7 separate regions of the Homo sapiens genome follow, and regions 1, 3, 4, 5, 6 and 7 are each linked to region 2. Evidence: promoter capture Hi-C in 16 types of primary human blood cells and fetal thymus (Javierre and others, 2016). All regions are on one chromosome and are shown on one strand. Each heading gives the region's core, a stretch centred on a gene start or on the middle of the fragment in contact. The rest is flanking DNA. Distances are from core to core; before and after follow the strand shown.

The links. Contacts are between HindIII fragments. The CHiCAGO score rates a contact against its expected background, and 5 or more counts as called.
Region 1: a contact is called between a fragment that was not itself captured here and the fragment with the promoter of CBLIF in region 2, in 1 of 17 cell types (erythroblasts). The highest score is 5.9, in erythroblasts.
Region 3: a fragment that was not itself captured here is called in contact with the fragment with the promoter of CBLIF in region 2 in 1 of 17 cell types (erythroblasts); the score reaches 6.4 in erythroblasts.
Region 4: a fragment that was not itself captured here is called in contact with the fragment with the promoter of CBLIF in region 2 in 4 of 17 cell types (M0 macrophages, M1 macrophages, M2 macrophages and 1 more); the score reaches 9.4 in M0 macrophages.
Region 5: the fragment with the promoter of MS4A4E here is called in contact with the fragment with the promoter of CBLIF in region 2 in 13 of 17 cell types (erythroblasts, M2 macrophages, M0 macrophages and 10 more); the score reaches 22.6 in erythroblasts.
Region 6: a fragment that was not itself captured here is called in contact with the fragment with the promoter of CBLIF in region 2 in 1 of 17 cell types (erythroblasts); the score reaches 6.1 in erythroblasts.
Region 7: a contact is called between a fragment that was not itself captured here and the fragment with the promoter of CBLIF in region 2, in 1 of 17 cell types (naive B cells). The highest score is 5.3, in naive B cells.

The regions. Positions count from the first base shown.
Region 1 is chr11:60,182,267-60,184,966 of GRCh38, reverse strand. MS4A6A (membrane spanning 4-domains A6A) reads left to right here and starts at 1,884. Exons shown (of 6, transcript NM_022349.4): 1 at 1,884-1,989. The HindIII fragment of the contact is 600 bases long and covers 951-1,550 here.
Region 2 is chr11:59,844,192-59,846,891 of GRCh38, reverse strand. CBLIF (cobalamin binding intrinsic factor) reads left to right here and starts at 1,393. Exons shown (of 9, transcript NM_005142.3): 1 at 1,393-1,517. The coding sequence starts at 1,439. The HindIII fragment of the contact is 3,325 bases long and covers 754-2,700 here.
Region 3 is chr11:60,165,159-60,167,858 of GRCh38, reverse strand. No RefSeq gene overlaps it. Among named protein-coding and RNA genes, the nearest start is that of LINC02705, 2.1 kb to the right of the region's middle. The HindIII fragment of the contact is 291 bases long and covers 1,247-1,537 here.
Region 4 is chr11:60,145,251-60,147,950 of GRCh38, reverse strand. No RefSeq gene overlaps it. Among named protein-coding and RNA genes, the nearest start is that of LINC02705, 18 kb to the left of the region's middle. The HindIII fragment of the contact is 1,328 bases long and covers 696-2,023 here.
Region 5 is chr11:60,241,768-60,244,467 of GRCh38, reverse strand. MS4A4E (membrane spanning 4-domains A4E) reads left to right here and starts at 1,331. Exons shown (of 9, transcript NM_001393391.1): 1 at 1,331-1,510. The HindIII fragment of the contact is 3,157 bases long and covers 1-2,152 here.
Region 6 is chr11:60,263,434-60,266,133 of GRCh38, reverse strand. No RefSeq gene overlaps it. Among named protein-coding and RNA genes, the nearest start is that of MS4A4A, 16 kb to the left of the region's middle. The HindIII fragment of the contact is 648 bases long and covers 1,102-1,749 here.
Region 7 is chr11:60,225,514-60,228,213 of GRCh38, reverse strand. All of the region lies in intron 3 of MS4A4E (membrane spanning 4-domains A4E), which reads left to right. Among named protein-coding and RNA genes, the nearest start is that of MS4A4E, 16 kb to the left of the region's middle. The HindIII fragment of the contact is 243 bases long and covers 1,268-1,510 here.

The sequences.
Region 1 (2,700 bases), core at 1-2,500, 340 kb before region 2:
GATAGCCACCTACTGTAAAGAATTACCCAGTCCAAAGTGGCATTAGTAGCTTTTTTGAGAAACCTGTCCCAGATCATTAATCAGAACGTGTTATTGATATACCAGTCTTCTCCCTTGTAGTTAGGTTGGTAGAATTCAGACTCTGGAAAAAACTGGGAATGTAAAAGGCTGAATGAGTGTAAGCTGAAAGACAAGAGAAAGGAGAATTGTTTTAAGCTTACTAAAGCCAAAATGGAAAAAAAAAGAGGGGGGAGGATTGGGGGGTGAGGAAGACAGTCAACAGACCGCTTTTAGGCCATCATTCCGAAGGGTTCTGTGCTAGGAACCTTACACGTGTTGTCTCACATAATCCTTAAAACTCAGAAATGATTTTAAATTAAATAGCACAGAGAGGAAAACTGACTGGAGAGGGAGCCTTTGCTTAGGTAGGCAACTTTAACTGGTTTATTAGCACATTCCCCTGAAGGGAAAGGGGGTGTGATTGCTCCTGAAGAGACCAAAGAGACTGGGCTCCTTTTTAATCAAAGCTCAGGAGGAGAGCTGCATTCCACTGTTTCACAGATGCTGTGAGGGTGACAAAGATGCAGGGCACCCACTGGAAACACAGACGGCACTCTGCGAAAGAGGAAGGGGCGCCAGGAGCTTGGGTGAGCAAGGTTGGAGGTGATTCTGCCCCTCTCCCCAGGCTTTCTGTGTGAGTCCATTCCTCCTCTCAGATTTATTGTTAGAACTTAAGACAAGCCAATTACATTTCATAATGTCTGTGTCATTCAGACGCTGAGAACTAATCCAGCCTTCTAAATGGTGCTTCTTAACTCCTTTCTTCAACAGGAGAGTTAATGTGTGGAATTAAGTGCAGAATCCATGGCCCTCTGTGGTGACGGTGATGGTTCAGGTTGTGTTTCTGGGTTCATTCTGGAAGCTCCCCCAAGGAAAGGAGGAAGGAAGCTTGCAGGGTGGGGCTTTGCCATTGCCCTGACTGGCTCTGGTTTCCTTGCCTGATACATTGAAGTCAGCTTCCAAAGAATGCCACCCAAGGTTTTGAAGGGGCACAGTGCCTCTGTCCTCACAAAACCAGCCTGCATATGAGTTTACTGAATTCATTTAGGTCCTGCTGAATCTTTCCCATTTGTTCCTTCTCTGTTTCAATATTTCAATGCTTCCCTGGAGGGGCCCAACCTTTCTGGAGGGCAAAGATCTGTTGTTAGAGAAAAAGAGCAGCCAGAGGAGGAAGATGACTTGAGGGTAGGCAGCAGTTGGGCAATCAGTATTGAAAGGTTGCTTTCAGCCTGCCAAGACTTGGGGAATTAGAAAAGCAAGATAAAACAAAACAAACAAACAAACTATATATATAAAAAACAATTTTTTAAAAGTTTTTTTATGTTCTATATTACTATTAGCTATATATTAATGAATGTTCCTTTAAAGCAGTGTAGTCATTATTGCTATTATTATTATTATGGTTAGTTATAGACAGTGGAATATTGTTCTTTCTCTATATTATGATTACTAGCACTATTACTGTTATTAGTTACATGTTATTGAAAGCTTCAAAGCAGCATAGGCTTTTTATAAATATTTTTGCTCATCTTTATGACAATTCTCCAGTGTTGGTATTGCTCCTCTATTTAACAGATTAGAAAACTGAAGCTTCAAGAACAGACTTGCCTAACAACAGGAAACTTGTATGTCTCGAAGTGGCAATTCACACATAAGGCTCCATGACTCCTGAACTCTCACAAATATTAGTTGGCTCTTTTCATGGTTTTACTGAAGTTGCTAGAAGTTTACAGAAAAGGAAGTGCAGGAACATTTCACAAATCTACAATCTGTGAGTATCACATCCTGTATAGCTGTAAACACTGGAATAAGGAAGGGCTGATGACTTTCAGAAGATGAAGGTAAGTAGAAACCGTTGATGGGACTGAGAAACCAGAGTTAAAACCTCTTTGGAGCTTCTGAGGACTCAGCTGGAACCAACGGGCACAGGTAGGTAATGCTGGAAGACTTTTCTCATCTCACTATTCCCTTGCCGTGACCTCATTAGAGGAGTAATTTAACTTGAAACTCCTTGACAGCAGTTAAGAGACACTAGGGCCTTTTGGAAATAGAGTGGGCAAATGGAAGGAGTATCTGTTTTTAACTCTGTGTCCGCTGTATTCTAATTGCATAAACTCAGTGAGTCACTTACCTAAGGTTGTGTAATTAATGGGAGCAGAGCTCTTGTCTCTTCAAATGTGTTTAGACCATTTGTAAACTGGGCGGTCTGTGCTTTGAGAATGGTGCCGTGAAAAGGGATCCAAGCTGAGCTTAGCAACAAATACCACAACCTACTTGGTCTTTATGCTAAAAAGTGGGGAGGACCAACGACGCGAGCCTATGTGTTATGAGTCCAAGACTTGTTCTCATACCACTGCATGCAGCTGTTTCTCCAGCCTGAGTAAACTCAGACACAGGCTGGCAATGCCAGGTGGGAAATTAGGAAGAGGTAGAATGATCTAGAGATTTATGCAAAGGCTTCAGACTCCAGGAAAGCTGAGATCCAAGACTGGTTTTACAGCTTCCCGGCTGTGTGAACCAGGGTGAACAATAAGGGTAACTGCAAATATTTCTTCAGCATTAACTCTGGGCCACACATATATGCAATAGGTATATTATTTGCATTCATAACTTAAACTTTATTTTGCATTTTCTTATTTA
Region 2 (2,700 bases), core at 144-2,643:
CTTACATTTGCTCATTAATTCACTCATTCAAAAAGTATTTTATTTCTACTGTGAGCTAGGTAGTGTTGTAAGGGCTAAGGATAGAGCAGTGAGCCAAAGAGACAAAGCCCCTCCCTCGTGGAGCAGACATTCTAGTAGGGAGATAAACAAACGATAAACAACCACACACTTAGTGCGACAGAGGGCAATGAGTTATAGCAGGCGAGGGGCATGAGGGGTGTCAGTGGAGGTGAGGATGTAGGATCTTATGTAGGGTGGCCTGGGAAGGCGTCTCTAAAAGCTTACCTCTGAGCAGAGACATGAAGGATGTGAGGAAGCCACCATGAGGCTATTTAAAAGAAGAGGGTCCTGGGCTGAGGGGGACATCATGTGCAAAGGTAGCTGATGTGTTCAAGGGGCACAAGAAGTTCTGTGTGATGGGAGCGGTGTGAGCAAAGGGGAAAACGCCTGGAGCTGAGGTCAGAAAGGAAACCAGGAGCCAGATCTTCTAAGGTCTTATAGGTCATGAAAAGGGCTTTGACTTTTATGCTAAGATGGGCGCCACTGGAGAATATCCCCTTAAAATGAGCTACTTTACATGCAGGAAAAAAACAAACAAAACTCCTTTCTTTATAATTTCAACATACCATTTTCAGTTCTCCCTTATAAAGAAGTATAATTTGCATTATAATGTAGCTACACATCTGAAATATGTATTCTTAATGGATCTCACATTTTCTAATTACTTACTTTAAAAGATAATATCTGAAAGCTTTGGGTGTTTGAGATGGCTTTTATCTCCAGATAAGGAAAGAGAAATCAAACAAAACCATTTCTGGGAAACCGAGGTCCATTTCTTGCCTAAAGTCAAACAACTTCAAAGAGTCTAGGCTAGAATCCAGGTCCAGGTAGACATCATTAATTTCACAAAGCCAGATGTCACCTGGCAGATCCCTGCCTGAGAGCCTAAAAGGACATGTTGTAAAGCAGGTGTCTAGGATCATAAAATGAGCTGATGCCTATGAATGGCCTAAATCCCAGTGAAGTAGTTACTAAAAAGCAGCCTGGTAACTGATTGGATACAATAAGGGCTAGAAGAGGTCTTGTTGATACTAGCACATTATCCAAACTTCCTGATGTCTGACCCAGGCCTTTGGTAAAGGACATTTTCTCAACATTGCCTTCACTGCATACCCAGCCCCAGGTTTCTCATATGACTGTGCAACCTAGAAGTCACCTTCAGACACCTTGGAGGGTCTATAGTCGGTAAACTTAGATAAGCAAATGAAAATTTACTTACTTGTATCAGGAAAGGAGAGGTCAGCACAGGGGCAGTTAGGAGAGGCTGGGTTGGGGACAGATTATTTAACAAAGGGAAGCACATATAAGAGAAGGTAAAGAAATATTCCACTTGCAAATCGCGGTACCTGTGGATGAGAGACATAGACGAGAGAGTGAGATGGCCTGGTTTGCCCTCTACCTCCTGAGCCTTCTCTGGGCTACAGCTGGGACTAGTACCCAGACCCAGAGTTCATGCTGTGAGTATGATGTTTTTCCAAGGAGGTCAGGGAAGCAGTTGCCCTGGGGAAGGGGCTGTGACCTCTGACACTGAGTGGTTGAAAATAGCAATCACTATAGGAATTCCAAAATGGGTAAGTCTGAGTGTGATTGTGTGCTGTTCATCCTTCCTGACTTAATAGCATAAGTTCTTTGAGAGACAAGTCTATATGTTTTTTATTAAGAGAGATGGGGCCAGGTGCAGTGGCTCACACCTGTAATCCCAGCACTTTGGGAGACTGAAGCAGGAGGATTGCTTGAGCCCAAGAGTTCAAGACCAGCCTGGGCAACATGGTGAGACTCCATCTCTACAAAAAAAATAAATAAATAAAAATAAAAAATTAGCTGGGCGCAGTGGCATGCACCTGTGGTCCCAGCTACTCAGAAAGCTGAGGTAGGAGAATCGCTTGAGCCCAGGAGGTCGAGGCTGCAGTGAGCTATAATCACACCACTGCACTCCAGCCTAGATGACACAGCAGCACCCTGTCTCAAAAAATCAATAAATAAAAATAATAGAGATGGAAGTACTACTGCAGGAATAATGGTTGATGGTACAAAGACAGACACTCAGTGGCTATTGTGACCAGACACCACTACATACTAGTGAGAGATTTTGGTACTCACTGAGGATAAATTATATCCCAAATCTTTAATACTCTTCATGAAAGAGTAAGGAAAAAAATGAATGCAAGGAAATCAGTGATTTCCAGGAAAGTGATAGAAACTATGAGAAATGTCATGAGCCATATTGCTTGAAGTTACTAAATTTAAAAATCACTTTCTTAAGGATATGGATTATTTGAGAAGATGTAGAAACTAATTGTCCTCAAAAGTAAAATCTCACCATTTTCTCCATTTCTCTTTAGTGACTTAGGACACTAATGCTAATCAAGTGTTCTCCTAAAAGGCATCAAAGATGGCCAGGCGAGGTGGCTCACGCCTGTAATCCCAGCACTTTGGGAGGCCAAGAAGGGTGGATTACCTGAGGTCAGAAATTCGAGACTACCCTGGCCAACATGGTGAAACCCCATCTCTACTAAAAATACAAAAATTAGCCTGGCGTGGTGGTGCACACCTGTAATCCCAGCTACTCAGGAAGCTGAGGCAGGAGAATCACTTGAACCTGGGAGGCAGAGTTTGCAGTGAGCCGAGATCGTGCCATTG
Region 3 (2,700 bases), core at 143-2,642, 320 kb before region 2:
AGGTATAAAGCCTTTTTTTTTTTTTTCGAGAGAGACGGAGTCTCACTCTGTCACCCAGGCTGGAGTGCAATGGCGTGATCTTGGCTCACTGCAAGCTCTGCCTCCCGGGTTCACACCATTCTCCTTCCTCAGCCTCCCGAGTAGCTGGGACTACAGGCATCTGCCACTGCGCCCAGCTAATTTTTTGTATTTTTAGTAGAGACGGGGTTTCACCGTGTTAGCCAGGATGGTCTCAATCTCCTGACCTCGTGATCCGCCCATCTCAGCCTCCCAAAGTGCTGGGATAACAGGCGTGAGCCACCACGCCCAGGCTGTTCTTGATTATTTAAAAAATTTAATATCTCAATACCAATTATACTATTTACTGTACATTTAAAATACATTTTCTTATTGCTTTCAGAAGTTTAATTTTATTATTTTTGGTAGGGTTTATTTCTGGGATGTGAAATTGGTTCAACATATACAAATCAATAAATATGATTCACCACATAAACAGAATTAAAAGCAAAAACCATATGACATCTCAATAGATGCAGAAAAAGGTTTTTGATAAAATTCACCATCCTTCATGTTAAAAATCCCTCAACAAATTAGGCATCAAAGGAACATAACTCAAAATAATAAGAGCCATCTATGACAAACCCACAGCCAACAGCCAGCATCATACTGAACTGGCAAAAGCAGGCAGCATTCCCCCTGAGAACTGGAAAAAGGCATGGATGATTATTCTCATCACTTCTATTCAGCATAGTACTGGAAGTTCTAGCCAGAGCAGTCAGGCAAGAGAAAGAAATAAAAGGCATCCAAATAGAAAGAGAGGAAGGAAGTCAAATTGTCTCTCTTCACAGACAACGTGATTCTATACTTATAAAATCCTAAAGACTCCAGCAAAAGGCTCCTAGAAATCATTAACAACTTCAGTAAAGTTTCAAGATACAAAATCAATGTAGAACCATTACTAGCATTTCTATATACCAATAATGTTCAAGCTGAAAGCCAAATTAAGAATGCAATCTCATTTACAATGCTACAAAAAGCATAACATACCAAGAGTAGAGCTAACCAAGTAGGTGAAAGATCTTTACAATAAGAACTACAAAACACTGCTGAAAGAAATCAGAGACGACATGAACAAATGAAAAAACAGTTCATGCTCATGGATAGAAATAATCAATATTGTTAAAATGGCCATACTTCTCCATGAATTTCTTTAAAAAATTGTATATATCGATTTTTATCAAAAGCTTTGTCTGCATACCTCTGTTGAGATTAACAAAGTCTTTTTTTCTTATTTGATGTGTTTCTGCAGTAAGTGATTTTCGAAGATTTTCTATTGTCAAATTATATATGAATAACTGGAATGAGTTCAATTTGGCCATGACCAAATGCTTTAAAAATACATCTTCCTATTCTATTTGCCACTTTTATTTTTCAGTTTCTTACATCTATATATATGAGGGAGAGTGATTTATAATTTCTCATTATCACACTGCTTATATTAGTTTTCTATTGTGCCTGTAACAAATTACCACAAGCTTTGTGACTTAAAACAATACAATTTTATCTTAGAGTTCTGTGGGTCAGGATACAACACTGGTCTCACTGGGCTAAAAATCAAGTTATCTACAGAACTACTTTCCTCTCTGGAGCTTCTAGGGAAAAAAATCCATGACCTTGCCTTTTCTAGCTCCTTGAGGCTGTCTCATTCATTGACTCATGGGCTTTTTCAAGGCTGGCAGTGGCAGATCATGTCCTTCTCATGTTGCACCTCTGACTATTCTTCTATCCTCAATTCTCTCTTAGACTTACCTGGGAAAGGTTCTCCACTTATAAGGACTCTTATTATTACATTAGAATTGCCATAATTCTCCAGGATAAACTCTGTGTTAAGATCAACTGCTTAGCAAACTTGATTCTATCTGTAACTTTTAAAATCATTTGCCAGATATCATAGCATACTCTCAGATTCCAGGGAGTAGGATGTGGATAACTTTGGGTACTATTATTCTTGGTAACATACTGCCTTTTTTGATGTTGTTATTGCAGAAAATAGAAGAAAAATAACAACTGTGTCCTGGCCGACACTGGCTGGGAGCTCATTGTCAGTAGACATGTGGTGAGGCAATGAGTCATAACCAACGTGGGTTTCTTTTTGTCCCATGAAAGATTTGGTGTGACATGAGCTGATGAAAAAGAACTTAATTCAAGTAATAAATTTATTTCTATTTTCACAAATTTGGAAGTTTTAAAATGGTACCCTGTTTCCTGGTTCCTTGAGAAGTTGTGGGGTTGAAAGGTGGGAAATCAAATGCATAATCAGCATCAGCATTACATTAAAGAGTACACGTGCAGGTTTGTTACATGGGTACATTACATGATGCTGAGGCTTGAGGTCCCAAAAATCCCATCACCCAGGCAGTAAGCATAGTACCCAACAGGGGCTCTTCAACCTGTTCCCCTCTCCCTCCCTTCCCCATCGAGTGAGTGGTCCTCAATGTCTATTGTTCCCATCTTTACATTCATATGTATTCAATATTTAGCTCCCACTTGCTAGTGAAAACAATGCAGTATTTGGTTTTCTGTTCTTCCGTTCATTTGCTTAGGATAATGGCCTCCAGTTCCATCCATGTTGCTGCCAAGGACAAGCTTTCATTGTTTTTTATGATCGCATAGTATTCCATGTTTTATATGTACCACAAT
Region 4 (2,700 bases), core at 110-2,609, 300 kb before region 2:
TATTTCCAGAAACGTCTAACTTTTGGAGACTTCTTAGTTTTATTTAGGAGACTAGATTCGGTAGGGAGATCTGGGTCCATTACCATTTCTCCATGAATTCCCTATCCGTTGAAAAAATGTGCAGATACTGCATTTTTTTCTGACGTCTGAGAAGAGATCCTATTTTTTTTTTTTGCACATGAAAGTGTTTATTAATCAGGAACTTTTGAACTTTCTCCCTAGACCCTTATCCATTGGACTGTCTTCGGGCCTTTTTCTTTAACTTTTATTTTAAGTTCATGGGTACAAGTGCAGGTTTCTTATATAGATAAACTTGTGGCATTGGAACGTGCTGTACAGACTATTTCATCACCCAGGTATTAAGCCTAGTACCCATTAGTTATTTTTCCTGATCCTCTCCCTGCTCCCACCCTCCAACCTCTGAAAGCCCTCAGCAAAATGATCGTTGGGAATACTGGAAAGTTACCGAGACTATTTTTTAATACAGGCACTGTTGCGTTAAAATTCAAAGTAACGCTGGCTTTTTGTTGTTATTGTTTGCTTTGTTTTGTTTTGTGTTGGTGTTTTGTTTTATTTTTTTGAAATCCACTTCTTCTTCAAAAGCAGAACATATATTTTTGAATTGAGATTCAAACTCGTGTCATCATTTTGTTTAATGCAAAGTGGAGGGGACTCCAAAGGCCTGAGATGAAGCTTTAGGATACAAGTCTTGATACGACCATGAGGTGGAATCCCAGCCAACGGAATTCTGTTCTCTTTAACGGGGCCTTGTGATTGTACTGATGATGCTAAACTGCTTGCAACTTTCAATTACTTTTGCTCTCTGCACACTCACCTATACTGCAGATGGCAGTAAAATCAGTTGGGTGAGTAACAGTTGAGAGAATGAGGATGCAATTGATTATTTTATTTAGTAATCTTGCATATAATTTTTCAAATATTTGTTAAGAGGAAGAAAGGCACAGCTGTTGTTCGTGTATAGTTTTTGAGGACCACTCCTCAAACAGTATTTTGGTCATATTTGCCCTACATTTATAAACACCTAGGATACTCAGAAACTCTCAACGGTAACACCAAGTAATTCAATATTATTTGTTAATTGATTCATTAGTTGATTTAATATCTATTGAACACTTATTTGTTTGATACACTGTGCACATGGTAAGGATATGAAAGTAGGCCATTCACTTCAAAAAAACTCAAAGTAGGCTGGGCGCAGTAGCTCACACCTGTAATCCTAGCACTTTGGGAGGCGGAGGCAGGTAGATCACATGAGGCCAGGAGTTTGAGACCAGCTTGACCAACATGGAGAAACCCCATCTCTACTATAAATACAAAAATTAGTTGGGCGTGGCGGTGCACGTCTGTAATCGCAGCTGCTCAGGAGGCTGAGGCACAAGAGTCACTTGAACCTGGGAGGCGGAGTTTGCAGTGAGCTGAGATTATACCACTGCACTCCAACCTGGGTGACAGAAGGAAATTGTGTCTCAAAAAACAAAACAAAACAAAACACTCAAAGTATATAAAGTCAATTGCCCAATGAAGAAATAAATTGGCCCTGGCGTAGTGGTTCATGCCTGTAATCTTAGTACTTTGGGAAGCTGAGGTGAGAGGATTACTTGAGTCCAGGAGTTCAAGACAAAGCTGGGCAACAGAGTGAGACCCCATCTCTACAGAAAATAAAACATTGGCCGGATGTGTGGCACATGCCTGTAGTACTAGCTACTTGGGAGACTGAGGTGGTAGAACTGTTTGAGCCCAGGAGACTGAGATTACAGTAAGTGTTGATTGAACAGTGCACTTCACCTTGGGTGACAAAAAGAAAGAGATAAATTATACTACTGTGATACAGTACATTTAACATGCTGTGAACTAGGACTATATACAAAGTGATTTAAAGAAATTGTCATTTGATTTTCCTGTTCTGCAACAGCTCAGGAGTAGGTAGTCCGTACCCGGGAGTATAGCTTTGCTTTCTTCCTTGTGTGGCTTCTTTTAAGGTATGAAAGTTGTAACTAAAGCTTTTTCCTTTATGTCTGCATCATATGGACAGATCTTTGTCATATAACCACACACAGTTATGAGTGGTGACGAAATCTAGCTATTGACTGAGCAGTTGTATGTCTAGGTTAAAACCAGGAGCTCTATTCAAGGAAGCAAGATCAGAATAAAAATTGCTAGACAATCCACATTCTCTGGCCCTAACACAGTCTTTTCTCTGGCCACCCAAATGTTCAACTCTCTCCCCAAAAAGGAAATGCACTTATTTTCTCATCGAGGTAGAAAATCCAGAGTCTCAGACATTTGTTATACTTAGCACAATCTCAGGAAATTTTTAATGATTTAACATTATTTTTCCTACAATTCTGGAACCACTTTCTTGTTATTTGGGAAATCATGTTGTCTGTACTTTCCCACACTCACAGTCAAAATACCATGATCAATTAGGAGGATTAAAAAGAATAAAAACATCTAGTTGGACAAAGAAATAATTAGTAATCCTGGAGTTACCTATTCATAGACTTTATTTGATTCTCTTAGGCAGGAATTGAGATTTGCTCCCCAAGAAATACAGCAAGATCTGCTTATAATATGGTTTTCATCTCTGCTCATTCTGGCCTTTTACTTATTACCCTCTGGGTATTGGGAAGTTTGCCCCATTTTTCCATCCACTTCCTGATGGTGCAGGGGAACTGGAGA
Region 5 (2,700 bases), core at 82-2,581, 400 kb before region 2:
TAAACATCTTTCAAATCCATTCATTCTCTCCAACTTCACTAGCATCATAGGTAGTTCAGTAACCATCATCCCTTCCCTAGAGAACTGCCTCTTTCTTAACCCTAACTCCCTGATTTCAGTATTATTTATTCCTATTGTTGCTTTACATGAAAACCAGGACAATATTTCTGAAATATAACCCATTTAATTCTGAGAATTAAAATAATTTCAGATTATAGACAACAAAGTTTTTGGGATTAGGCAAAACTGGATTTCAATCTCATCTATACCAGCTATATGAATATCTCTGAGTTTCAGTTCCATCTTCTGGAAAATGGGAATAATAATGTTACCTAGCTCCATCCTTCTTCCATTTGTGTGTCTTTTGCTTATTCATCAGGTCTCCAATTAGATGTCCCTTTATCTAGGAAGTCTCCTCTGCCTACCTACCCAACGTTGAGTTCTTTGATCCTCCTATGAGCTCTCTCAGGATATCCAATTTTACCTTGCAGATCACTGATTATAATGGGTTGTAATGATTTATTTATTCATCAGCATTGCCACTTTACCTTGCAGGTAACTGATTATAATGGGTGATTTATTTACTTGTCTATATTGTCAAGTAGCCTATAAAATCCTTGAGCGAAAATCATTTTTCACCATTTTATCTGAAGCACATGGCACACTGCTTGGCTTATAGTAGCTTTTCTCTAAGAAAATGCTGAGTGAATGAAAATTGCATGCCACTTTGCTTTCCTCCATGTAAAGAAGGCATTATTTTATTTTACCAATGAATCAGGTTCAGGGGATTAACAAGGTCATACAAGAAATGATTGCCATTGGGTTTGTCTTAGTCAAAGACCAGCTTGTTCTATGATACCAGCTGCTTCTTTGACTTAGAAAGGTGTTGTATTAATTATTGCTGTACAACCAACTTGTTCCCATTTTGTGGCTATTCATGTTGAACCTCCAAAGGTGAAATATCATGAAAATAAGATATTTAAGTTGTGTATATTAAGGCACAATTACTTTTTCACCAACCTAATACAATAGTAACAGTAGTTCTCTGGGAAGAAGAGTACTGTGGAAATGTGTGAAATTGTGAAAGGGGGCATTTATAAATTACCATTTACTTAGTTGTGTATATAACAATCTTTGAGCAGAGTCTGGCAAACAGAAAATCCTCCACCACTGATACCCACAGTAATTAGCACTATTATTTTCATAGGAAAGACTGTATCAGGCAGCCACTGCTTTTTCAGCAAATTTCAAAATAAACGTCCACACCCATATTGGGAACGCAAAATCAGTTAATGCTTCCGATAAAAAAGAGGAACTAGTTGTGTGTCTCAGAAGTTCTCAACACATCCTTTAAGGTTCCAAACATCTACTAGAAAAGGAGTGCAGATTTAAACTGAGTGAGGTGTGGAGTGGGGGAAGCTGACTGTGTCTGGAACAAAGAACTTTGAGGAACTTGCCCAGAGCCCTGCACTCATCAGACCTGCAGCAGACATTGCAGGCCTGAAGAAAGGTAGGTCCAGGGACTTGCCTTCCTAGGCTCTCGGACTGATAGTTTGTTTCATTTCCTGGGTTTAGGATTTCTGGGAGTGGAGTGAGAAAAAAAAATGAGGTCACTTCCCATGACCCAAGCTGGTAGTCAGGGTTGGGGTGGATTGAGTGCACATTTAAATATGCATTTGGTGAGGGTTGTGGGTGGTTGAGGAACAGTCTTCGCTACAGTTGATGGGAGTTAGAAAAGCCTCCTAAAGGCTGACACTGGAGGCTGGATGAAGTTGTTTTAGTTACTTTTGTTCCGTAAGTTCTCAGGATACCAAAACACTGTAAGCAACATTTTAAACTTTGATTAATTACCTCATCTACTGTTAATGCACTTCTTCCATGGTCTTTATTCTTTGTCTCTGACTGGTTATTTTTATAATTCAAGACTTAAGAAAAGATCTAGCACGTGCAGAATTTGGTGTACATGGAGTAGGGCACAGGCAGGGTCCCCAGCCTTGTACATTTAGATGGGCTGTGGCCTGACGTAGTTCTCCAGTGGTCTTTGGCACTATTCATGTGGCACCCAGGCAGTAAACTGAGGCTGCTCATGATAAAATCTGCAAATGAAAAACATCTTGTAGACTTTTAGCATTCTTAGGATAAGAAAGAAGCTTGTAAGTAGTCGTAGTCATTGTAATCTTTCCCCAGATGAAGTAAATGAAATCCAGAAAAGGGAAATAATGTACCTAGAATCACACAAGTTAACAAAAGGGCTAGGAGCAAAAAACCCAGAATTCTTGGTTCCTAGCCCAGGCCTTTCCCCCTTTTCCCTTCCCATGCCACCATTTCTGCATCCCCATCATCCTCCTAAAAACCATCCAGATTCAGGCCTCATTTTGGGTTTCTAGTCTATTTGATAACTCTGCCAAGAAAAAGGGGATGACCGTGTATACCACTCTCCTCATGCTCTCTTGTGTTGTGACCCATAAGGGGGATGGTGACATAAAAATGAGGAAACAAGAGACTGCTGGTGCTGCTGATCCACAAGGAGACTGGGGCCAATAGAAGAGGGAAGGGTGGTCTAGGTTACCCCACCTCTTTATCCGGGGTGGGGAGGAGGGGCGGGGAAGACATTGTAGTTGTCAAGAACCTGATGCATATAGGTGATGTGGCAAAACCAAGGTTTAGATTCTTCTCCAACCTGAAAGAAATGTCCCTCCC
Region 6 (2,700 bases), core at 176-2,675, 420 kb before region 2:
ATTAAAGCACTTTAATACTATCTTGAAAATCAACTTGTGATGTTTTGAAAATTCATTCTCAGGTATCCTCACTAACACCTTTCAATATAAGTAATAATATCTAAATAATACCTACAAAATTTAGCAGATGAAAAAGCTAAGGGTCAGAGGGATGACTTGCTGTATCTACTAGATTCCCAGAGAATATGGGATAGAAATGGGACCCAACCCAGCGCTAGTATACAAGACCAGAGCTGGGAGTTGACTTTTCATAAGGTCTTCCCAGAAGACACCAGATTAGGTAGGAATTCAAATTAGGTAGGACAATTTCTTGTCCACTGCCTCCCTCTTGTGGCTCAATTAAATATGACACCTCAATGTCAAAATGAAGGGGATAATAGGAAAAACAGAAAAACTGGGTTATACATTCATTACCTTCATGACTCACGTGAATCACTTTCTTTCCCTGGGCCACAGACTTCTCATATTTCAGTGTAGAAAGATTTCCACGTCTCTTCTAACTCTGATGTTCTATTTTTATAAGATGTAAATCAGGTCTCTTATATACAGCCCAGTCTAAGCAAAGCATCTCAATATTGTAAGAACTGCCTGTGTGCATGTGTGTGCGTGTGTGTGCATGCATGTGTGTGTGGAAAGAGATGACAACAATTGAGACTACAGAGCAAGTATTAAGAGAACTGTTTGTATTTCTGGACTCCTGAAAATTGTGCACCACCTTCTACATGTCTTTGTGGTCAGTGGTGAACAGGCCATACCATGAGTGCTAGGAGAATTTTCCTGATGCCAGGATTTGAGCTTACCATTGCTCATTTACCCTAATTTCTTCCCAAAGATATGTTACTTTTGGGAAAGAAACTGGGGAAAGATTGAAAAGTAAATCCTAGCTTGCATTCCTGGGACAAATAGTCCCCGAGAGATATATAACTTTAAGCTTGGTTCTGAACTGAGATCATTGTCTCCTCTAGTAACCTGAAGCAGCATCAAGACATCACATCCTACTCTCTGTCCTTACAATAAAAGGCCTCAGTTTAGTATCCCGAAGTCCAACTTGGCCCTACCCTCCAGACACAGATATGAAGATGTAAAGAGAAGGCCAAAGCTTATGGAATAAATCCTACTCAGAAGAGAAGATAGGCACAGGGCCAGGTTCTATGCATTCTGGCTCAATACCAGCGGTAGAATTTAAAAAGCCTTTAGTTGCATCTGGAGAACTCCAGGTTCGTCTAGAGCAGTAGCTCTTAAAATGTGGTTCCCAGAGTAGTAGCATCAGTATCACCTGACATTGTGGTTGACATGCAAATACCCTACCCCAGACCTATTGAATCAGACAGTCTCGGTGTGCATTCTGTGTTTTAAGAAGCCCTCCAGATTTTGATACACACTCAAGTTTGATATCTACAGGCTTATAGCAGTAATTGGCAACATTGACTATACGGTAGAATCCGCTAAAGAGCTACAAAAAATTTTGACTCTCCAACCATAATCCATATTAATTAAATCAGAATACCTGGTAATGGGGCTCATGTGTTAGTACGTGTTAAAGTTTCCCAAGTTATCCCAATGCTCAGACAAGATTGAGATCCATTGCTCTAGAGGCAAAGGCAGACTTCTTGGAGAGTCTTTTGCTTCTGTCTCCATCCTTTCAGCTAACTAGTAGAAGGGCCCAGGCCTTTCTCACATTAACTTCTGTTAAGCAAGTTCTAGTCCCATCTCAGGTTTGTGCAGGTGATTTGTTTTTAAACATAAGCTTGGGACTTTAATTTTACCTGATTAAATTTGATCTGTATTCCAACGCTCATGTTCCAGACTTTTGGGTTGTATCTTCAATCTGGACACTCTCGTTTTATAAATTATACTTCTTGTTTTTGGATCATTTGCAAATAGGATCAGCAACTAAATTCTTGATGAAAATATTAAGTGGTTGAAGATCCAACCAAGAGACTCCACAAAGGATGACATTAACACCCCCTGCATAGGATTTCTACCAGATGACAATCCATATAACTGGTTATTCAGGGCATGGTAGGCAGCCATAGTCCTGATTCTCTGGTTTTCCATATTTAGGGTCAACCCTGAGCCATTTGGCTGAGACCAGCTGGGCCTGGGTGTCATCTGATCACCTTTGTTACAGGATCAGTCCCGAGCCTGTGCACTGAGGCCTCTTCAGTACTTCTTCTGAACTAATAATACAAGGTTCCAAATGTCAGATATAGGAGAAACCGAGTGTTGGAGTTATCTGGGCCTGGGTTTTTAAAATACAAGTAAGGACAAAGGATGTCAAGATGTATAACTCTGATGTTCAGTCTTCGGCTTCAGTCTTCCTCACTTGACTGTCACTCTAGCCCTGAAGCAAATATACCAATGCCATGCCATGAAATTGCCTCATGGGCATAATTGTTGTACATTCCGACTAAACACAATAAGAAGACGGCAGGGCTTGAGTTTCACCACCAGCCCCCAGATGACCGCATAACAGCTATCACATAGTCTTACTGAACTAAAGTACCTGGGAACTTGAACTCCAAGCTCTTGGTGCTGATCCTGTGAAAAGTGCAATGTTGCATGTCCTGTCCCAGCTTCCTCTTTTCCAGGGACTTTCATATCTTAACTGTTCCTCTTGTGGTGCTCTCAGAGCTTTTCTCCACCAACCACTTTTTTTTTCTTTTTGCATTTCAAAACACATCACTTTTCGTTTATTTC
Region 7 (2,700 bases), core at 140-2,639, 380 kb before region 2:
AATAACAATCCTTTGTCAGGTATGTTTTTTGCAAATACCTTCTGTCAGTCTGTGGTTTATCTTTTCTTCTGACAGTGTCTTCTGCAGAGCAGAATTTTTTAATTTTAATAAAATTAAGATGATTAATTCGGTATTTCATGGGTTGTGCCTTTGGTATTGTATTGACAAACTCATCACCAAAACCAAGGTCATCTAGATTTTGGCCTATGTCATCTGTTAAGAGTTTCAGAGTTTTGAGTTCAACATTTGGGTCTGTGATTTATTTTGAGTTAATTTTTGTGAAGGATACAAGGTATGTGTCTAAGTTCAATTTTTGCCTATGGAGGTCCAGTTTTTTAAGTAGTATTTTTTTTTTGGAAAGACTATTCTTCTAATTGTATTATCTTAGTTCTTTATCAAAGATCACTTGACTATACTTCTGTGTCTATTTCTAGGCTTTCTATTCTATTCCCTTGATCTATTTGTCTATTTCTTTGCCAATATCACACAGTCCTGATTACTATCACTTTATAGTTTGTCCTAAAGATGGGTAGTGTTACTCCTAAAACTCCTTCTTCTTCAAGATTGTTTTTGTTATTCTAAGTCTTTTGCCTTTCCCTATAAACTTTAGAGTCAGTTTATCAATATACACAAATAATTTGCTAATATATATATATATATTTTGAGATGGAGTCTGGCGCTGTCACCCAGGCTGGAGTGCAGTGGCCCAATCTCAGCTCACTGCAAGCTCTGCCTCCCGGGTTCACACCATTCTCCTGCCTCAGCCTCTGGAGTAGCTGGGACTACAGGCGCCTGCCACTATGCCTGGCTAACTTTTTGTATTTTTAGTAGAGATGGGGTTTCACCATGTTAGCCAGGATGGTCTCAATCTCCTGACCTCGTGATCCGCCCGCTTCGGCCTCCCAAAGTGCTGGGATTACAGGGGTGAGCCACCACGCCCGGCCATTTGCTAATATTTTGAGGGAGATTGCATTAAATCTACAGATTAAATTGGGAAGAACTGATGTCTTGACAATGTTGAGTCTTCCTATCCATGGACATGGAATATCTCTCCATTTATTTAGTTATTCGACTTATTTTTTTTTAAGTTTCTCTTATAGATTTTGTACATAGTTTGTTAGATTTATGCCTAACAAACACCAAATACCAATACCTAAATATTTAATTTTTAGGGTTGCTAATTTAAATAGTATTGCATTTTTAATTTCAAATTTCACTTATTTACTATAAGTACATAAGAAAGTAATTGACTCTTGTGTATTAAGCTTGTATCCTACAACCTTAATATAATCATTTGTTAATTCCAGGAGTTTTTGGTTGATTCTTTCAGATATTCTACACAGACAATCACGTCATCTGTGAATAAAAGCAGTTTTATTTTTTTCCTTACCAATTGTATACCTTTATTTCCTTTTCTTGTCTTACCATTTCAGCTATGACTTCCAGTAAATGGTAAAAGGAGTAGTGACAGGCTTATCCCTGCCTTGGTCCTGATCTTAGTGAGAAAGCTTTGAATTTCTCCATTAAGTATGAAGTTAGCTGTAGTTTTATTAATAAATATTCTTTATCAACCTAAACAAGTTATCCTCTATTAATAGTTTTTCAAAAGTTTTTATAATAAACAGGCATTGGATTTTGCTCAATATTTTTCCTGCATCTGTTGATATAATCATGTGATTTTTCTTCCTTTTAGCCTGTTGATGTCATTAGTTACATTCATTGATTTTTGAATGTCTAGTCAGCCTTGCATATCTGGGATAAATCCCATATGGTTATGGTATATAATTCTTTTGATACACTATTAGATTTAGTTTGCACATGTTTTGTTGGGAATTTTTGCATCTTTGTTCACCAGAGATGTTGGTCTGCAGTTTTCTTTTCTTGTAATGTTTTTGACTTTTTTTTTTGGTAGATAATAGTGCTAGCTCCATAGAATGAGTTAGGGAGTATTTCCTCTTTTTCTGTTTTCTGTAAAGAATTGGTATAATTTCATTTTCAAGTGTTTGGTAGAATTCCAAACCTTTCCAGGCCTGGTGCTTTCTGTTTTGAAAATTAATTAATTATTTATTTTATTTATTTAATAATTATAGGCTTATTCAGAGTGCCTATTTCTTCTTGTGTGAATTTTGACAAATTGTCTTTAAGGAGCAATTCATTGGCTCAAGGTTATCAAATTGTGGGCACAGAATTGTTCGTAGAGTTATTTTATTATCCTTTTAATTACTATGGGAACTGTAGTGATATTCCCCCTTTCACTTATGAGTAATCTGTGTCCTCTCTCTCTTTCTCTTAGACTGGCTAAAGGCTTATTGATTTTATTTATGTATTTTTCTTTTTTTTAAAAAAAAGCATTGGATTTCATTGAGTTTGTCTATTAATTTTCTGTTTTTAATTTTATGATTTCTGCTCTAATTTCTATTACTTTTTTTTCTTCCGCTTACTTGGAGTTTAATTTGCTTTTCTTTTTCCAGTTTCTTAAGGTAGACTCTCAGGTGATTGATTTTGATCATTATTTTCTAATATATTCATTCAATGTTATAAATTTTTTCTAAGCACTGCTTTCACTACATCCCATAAATTTTGATAAGTTGTTTTAATTTTTTGACCCATTTATAATGCCATGAGATAATTGTACTCCAGCTCCTATTTTAAGAACGCTGTTTACTCATGTTCATGTCCTCAGGCCCAGACGTCAAGAAA